Regions from separate parts of the Homo sapiens genome. Here region 2 is linked to region 1. Evidence: promoter capture Hi-C in 16 types of primary human blood cells and fetal thymus (Javierre and others, 2016). All regions are on one chromosome and are shown on one strand. The core of a region is centred on a gene start or on the middle of the fragment in contact, and the rest is flanking DNA. Distances in the headings are between cores, read along the strand shown.

What was found. The method cuts DNA at HindIII sites, captures the fragments that hold promoters and counts their contacts. A CHiCAGO score of 5 or more calls a contact.
Region 2: a contact is called between a fragment that was not itself captured here and the fragment with the promoter of SH3BGRL2 in region 1, in 2 of 17 cell types (erythroblasts and megakaryocytes). The highest score is 7.7, in erythroblasts.

What each region holds. Positions count from the first base shown.
Region 1 is chr6:79,629,868-79,633,115 of GRCh38, forward strand. SH3BGRL2 (SH3 domain binding glutamate rich protein like 2) reads left to right here and starts at 1,462. Exons shown (of 4, transcript NM_031469.4): 1 at 1,462-1,639. The coding sequence starts at 1,595. The HindIII fragment of the contact is 2,885 bases long and covers 1,161-3,248 here.
Region 2 is chr6:79,095,748-79,098,995 of GRCh38, forward strand. No RefSeq gene overlaps it. Among named protein-coding and RNA genes, the nearest start is that of PHIP, 19 kb to the left of the region's middle. The HindIII fragment of the contact is 2,244 bases long and covers 438-2,681 here.

The DNA.
Region 1 (3,248 bases), core at 212-2,711:
GAGTTCCAATTATTTGAGTTTAACTATATCTTCATAGCTGAATAATTCCAAACTGAAGAAAATGCTGACTTTTATAAAGATTTGCATTTATATAGGAAATACGGTATCTACTTTTAAGAAAATTATTTTCTATTTTATAAACGTGCATTTCCACATTTATGGTAGCAAAATTAAAGTACATTTGCCGAGAGATACTAAAGACAGCAAAACTTCTATTTAAAATTTTAAACACGAAGAAGAAATAAAGTCCCATTAGGAGTGTCTCTTCTATTATTGAAGGAAATTTAAAAAGATTCCTACTACAGAAATGGCTTTAAGAAAAGCAATAGGAAAGGTTATAAATTTGAAATATTCATAACTGTTCTAAAAAATACTTCATAATGATTGCTCTTTGTGCAAGAAATGTATCAAAGAGCCAGAGACCTCATCATCTAATTTCTTACTTTTTCTTAATTAACATTGTTCCCAGACCTCTGCTAAACTCCCGTGTTGAAAGGAAAAAAGTAAATACAGTACAGCAGGGAAAACTGGTTCCTTTCGACAAAACTGAGAGAGAGGCTTGAGCTTTTGTCAAACAGAAAGCACTTGATAAAAAACTATTCCTAAACTATTAGCAACTATATAGAAGCTTTTTATTTAACAGCATCCTCCTGGGAAACTGCGCTGGAATGTGCAGCGGTTCTGAAAAAGGCACAGATTTGGCTGAACTGTAAATATTAGGTGCACAGAGGCGAAGCCATTGTGTAGGGAGGGGTGGGGCAGGTAGGGTCCTGATTTCCAATGTTGATAGAAGGATTCCAATTTCGTTTGGTATTTATTTTTTTCTACTACAATTACAGTTTTGCTGAGAAAAATAAAATATTGGTTGTGCTTCCATCTGGGTTTCTAATTTTCAGTGTGTACAGACAAGAGAAGACCTCTCATTTACCCAAAAGAATCACCTTTCTGCAATCTCCAGTGCTACTGGACAAACAAACGAGCCCAACCCCACCGCCCACACCTCCCAAGCACCCGGCTCGCCGATCCCGCCTGCTTCAGGTAGCTGGGGTTTGCCCGGTACGCCAGCGGCCCTGAGACGATGTGTGCCCGCAGCACGATCGTGTCTGTTGGCATTTCTGGGTGTGGATGCTCCAAACCAATAAACCACAATACAGAACCCAAGCTTGGACTTTGAACCGAGCCCTTTTGCCTAGTTTGCTTTTTCCTCATCAAGCCAGGATCCTTGCCAACCCACCTCACAGCTTCTGCCCGGGCTGTGGCTCCCCTCCAGCCACCTGCGCGTGTTCGGGATAGAAGCGCGGTCAGGAGGGGAGCTCAGTCCACCAGCCACTCCAGGGAGAGACGGAAACTACAAATCCCATCAAGCCCCGCAGCCGGCTCCCTCCTCCTCCCTCTCCTTCCCCTTCAGCCTGCGGCCGGGCGGCGCTGGGCTTTTATCTGCGGACCCGCCGGGAGGGAGCCAGATCCCAGCGATCTTCCCCGACGGCAGCGCTTTACCCAGAGGCTGCCGGCGGCTCGTAGCTGGGTTCAGCTCTGCGTCCACGCCAGCCCGGAGCCCGGGGGGCAAGGGGTCTGTCCCGGGCGCAGCGAGAGGATGGTCATCCGCGTGTTCATCGCCTCTTCCTCGGGCTTCGTGGCGGTGAGCGCGGTGGGGGCGGGCAGTAGGTTGGGGTCGCGGGGCGCGGGTCCTGCGGGAGGCGCGCGGCGCTCGTCACTGCGCGTCCTTGCGCTCAGCCGGTCCGCCCGCGGGAGCCCGCGCCCGGCAGGTGATCCATCACACTCCGACAACAATGAAGAGGGCGGGGAGGAAAGGTGGGTGGGGGACCCCGGCCTCACCCAAATGCCCACCCTGCGTGGCCTGAAAGGCAGACAACGCGGCCTGAAAATGGAGTCCGAGGGAAGCCCCCAGCTCCTGTTGTGTGGCATGGAAATTTGGGGAACGGGTTGTTCAAGAGCTTCGGGGATCCCCCTTCCCCTAGTTTAGTTCTTCCCGATTTGGGACCTTCAGACTGGTTATGTTTTGCACGGGAGCCTTTTCTGCTGCTTTGGTTTGTTACCCTAGCTCCTGAATGAAGCAAGTTTAAGTGGGAATTGCTCTCTGTCCTCCCTTCCCCGCCAGCAAGTGCATTTGTTTAGTTTTATACCTGCGCAAAGAGAATAGTAAAACTAGGTTTGTCCTGTTGTGGTAGGATTGTTTGCTTTCACTGTCATTTTTTTTCTTAGGGTGCCATAAATATTTTTACATCTTTATGTAAATGTGTGTGTATGCACGCATTTTCTTTCCACCTGTAATGCTGTGGAAATTTTATCCTGGGGATCTATGAATTGTGGTTTTCTATTTAATTATTTTTAGCTATTCTCTTTGGTGGATGTTCTTGAATTTTTTTAGAGAAAAAAAATTTTTTTAAAGAAAGGAAAGTTAAATAGCTAGAGATGTCAGAATTTAAGGAAAATTCAGTAGTTAGTATATTTGACAGCCCACTAAGGGACATAGCACATGTGTTTTACATGATTATTGAGACTTGGTTTCCTTAACCAAGAGTTCAGCTATAGATTTAAGAGCCTCCTTTGTGACATATATAATCAAGTAACATCAAAAAGTGCATTGTAGATTGCTTAAATTTGGTCTGGTCAATTGTCTGCCCAGTAGCTCAGTCAGATTGTTCCAAAATTTGTTTCTTAAGTGGGTGGAGTGGAGGATGGAATAAAATATTGTTTGAAAATCCTTGTACACCACTGAAGTTTTTTATTTAAAAAGAAACCAACACGATCATACAAAGCCCCTCCACCCCCATTTGCACTAGAAACAATAGATGGGAAAATCCAACTTACACTTATGTGCAGTCATGTTGGGGTCCTCAGACTTCTGACAGTTTCTGGTGTTTCTAGCTATTTGGGTTGCTTAGTCATGCCTGCCTTTTGTAGATTTCCCCACTGAAGCCACACTTCATGTGTTTGCAAACTGGCACTGTTTCAAGGGTAGATTTGTTCAAATGCACTCCTTACTAAGAATGCTACAAAGCTCTTGGTTTCACCACCGACTTGCATGCTTCAATAATTGTCCCAATAGCATTATATTGATTATGGAAGGAATGGTTTTTATCCCTTCCACAAGAGATAAAGCCTAGGCTACTTTGGAGCAAGTCGGACCAAGTCAAGGTAATGACTTGGCTTACTCTATTAGTAGGTAGTATATTGAGATAGTTTTGGTACTCCACATCTTTGTTTTTTCAGTGCCATTGGCAAAT
Region 2 (3,248 bases), core at 310-2,809, 530 kb before region 1:
GAGATTGCAGTGAGCCAAGATCATGCCACTGCACTCCACCCTTGGCAACAGAGCTATACTCTGTCTCAAAAAACAAAAACAAAAACAAAAAAACCCAGTAATAGTAACTAGTACATTGTTGTTGTTAAATAAATAATTAAGTATATCTGTATTGTTTGGAGTAAGACACCCTTCTATGAAAAATATTTTTGAAATACCGTGACAGACATCTCTAACTCAGTGATTTTCAAAACTCATTTGAGTAACAACACTTCTAAGAATCCAGTGAAAATCTTACTCCTCTTCTCGGAAAAATGCTCTTGGTTGTTAACTGACAGTTTGGCTGTTTCTTACCAGTTGTTTTGATTTATATTAACTAAGAACAAACTAAACACTTAAAGGGCTAATATTTAATTCAGCCACTAGTTTAAATATTTTTAGTCCATTTTTACACTAAAAGCTTAGTATTTTTATCCGGATAAAAATATATATTGTTATTGTACACAACTCTGACTGCACAAATCACTGATTACTCCGACTGAATCAATCAATTTCCTTAAAATTAGGATTTATAGATATAGGACAAACTATTCGGAACTTACAGTGTCAGTCATGGTAACTAATTTCAAATAGTCTTAGATTATCTATGTAGAATTAAATGCAATGGTAGACAGGTGCAGTGGCTCAGGACTGCAATCCCAGCACTTTGAGAGGCTAAGGCAGAGGGATGGCTTGAGCTCAAGAATTTGAGACCAGCCTGGGCAACATGGTGAAAACCCACCTCCAAAAACACACAGAAATTGGCCAGGTATGGGGGCGTGTACCTGTAGTCCCAGTTACTCCAGAGGCTGAGGTGGAAGGATCACTAAAACCCAGGAAGCGGAGATTGCAGTGAACAGAGATTGGACCACTGCACTCTGGCCTGGGTGACATAGACTCTGTCTCTAAATGAATAAATGTAATGGAAAGAAGTAGTTTTGTGATTTTTATGAGATTGCTATCAATCTCATTAGTTACCAGGAATCAGAAATACTAGTCCTGCAACTCATGGGGCAATTTTAATGAGCTATGGGAAGTCTGAATCTGTTTTGTTACTTAGTATGGACTTCTCTTATCTGCAGAAAGGCTTGTGGTGAATAATATCAATGATTATATCCATTCCCAGATCACTGAATTGCCTTTGATTCTTTGTAGAAAAAAAAAGTTTATGTTAATTTCCAGTTGTTCATTGCTAGTATACAGAAAAACAACTGAATTTTGTATACTGATGTTGCATGTATAAACATCAAACTTGCAAAAAAATACTATACTAGTTCCAATAGCTTTTATGTAATTTCACAAAATGTTCCATATAGGAGAATCTGGTTGTTAATAACAGCAATTTCACTTCTTCTTTTTTTTTCTTATCTACATGCCTTTTATTTTTTTTCCTTACTCTAATCTCCAATAAAATGTAGAGTAAAAATGGTGAGAGCAGACATACTGCCTTTTTGTTGATGTTAGAAGAAAAACAATCTTTCACCATTAAATCTGATATTAAATGTGAGCTTTCATAGATGCTGTTTATCAGATTGAGGGCATTCCCTTCTCTTCCTAGTTTGCTGAGAGTTTTTTTTTGTTTGCTTGTTTTGTTTTAAATCGGGAATCGCTGTGGATTTTGTTTAATACTTTTTCTGGACCTGCTAAGTTGATCATATGGTTTTCCTTTTTGGTCTATTAATATGGTGAATTACACTGGTAGATTTTTGAATGTTAAACCAATCTTGAATTTCTGAGAAAACTGGTGAATTAATATAACGAATTACACTGGTAGATTTTTGAATGTTAAACCAACCTTGCATTTCTGAGAAAACCCCAGTTGGAATCGACTTTTTAATTCAGATTGTTAATGTTTTATTACATTTTATAAAAAAAAGTTTATAAAAAATCTATCTTTATGAAAAATGTTAGTCTGTAGTTGCTTCCTGTAAAGTCTTGGATTGATTTTGATTTTCATATTTGAGTAAAGCTGGCCTCATAGAATGAGTTGGGAAGTATTTTTTCCTTTTTAACTTTTTGGCAATTTTTGTAAGATTATTATCTTCCTTATATGCCTAGTTAGGATTTACCTATGAAGCCATCTGAACGTGGTATTTTTTCTATAGGAATATTTTTAGCTAAAAATTTAATTTCTTTAATTAGTATATGACTACTAAAATGATCTCTTTCTTCTTGAGTAAACTAAGTATATGTAGGAAATCTCCTTTTATATAGTTCTATGCCTGGCAACCTTCAGCAACCTCGGCCTCCCTGGACTGCTTGCTATGCATCCTGAACTCAGGGAGACTGCAGTCTCCTCCTGGAGTCCTCCAGTTCTGTACCAGTCTGGAAACTATTTCTAGGCAATAAGCTGAGACAATCAGGTGCTCATCTCATTTGTTTCCATTGTCTTAGGATCACTGTCGTTCATTGCCTAAGTCCAATTTCTTGAAAACCAATGCTTCATACATTTTATTCAGTTTTTGTTTCAGGAAGGAGAATAGATTCAATCCTTACTTCATTTTGGCTGGAAACAGAAGTCCATTCTTAAACTTTAAAAACATTTATCTCACCCAAGTTTGGCCAACTTGTCTCTCTTACTTTCTCCTTATTTTTTTAGTAATACTTTAAAACTTTGATACTTTTTAAAAATTTTATTTTTCTCTCAGGAGGGGTGAGAAGGAAGCTTTCCACTGTTGTATTTAGCCTGATGCTTGCCTTATATAATTTTCACCCATCAGCTTCATTAAAGGTCTTCAGTGTAAGCTATTGGGATCAATTTGACAGTAAGACTTTGTATGATGAATGCATTCCATAATTGTTTAAAAAAAAATGAAGCAAAAGATTTAACTGCTGTGCCTAATTCTTCACCACTGCACTATTCTTTGCAGAAAAGCTTGGAAACAAGCCATATTCTCTTTTGTTTTCTGTTTTTTTTTTTTTTTTTTTTTTGCCAACAGAGTGAGTTGGAATGTCATGAAGACATGTTTTTAACCATTTAATAGAGGAAAAATATAAACTCTTCTACAATTACTTAAGTAAAGCATATATTTGTCTAACAAAAGTATTGTAAATTCAAGTACTAAAATTTGAACATTAGATAAATTGTAGGTTTGACTTTTTAGGGGGCTGTCAGTGATGACAGAATGTTTAATACACAGGGCTTGCTCATCGCTTTTGTGTGCTAGTATGTACCCTTCTGGGGTTGACTACAGACTGACGAAGCTCTTCTCTCCTGTTCTATCCTCCAG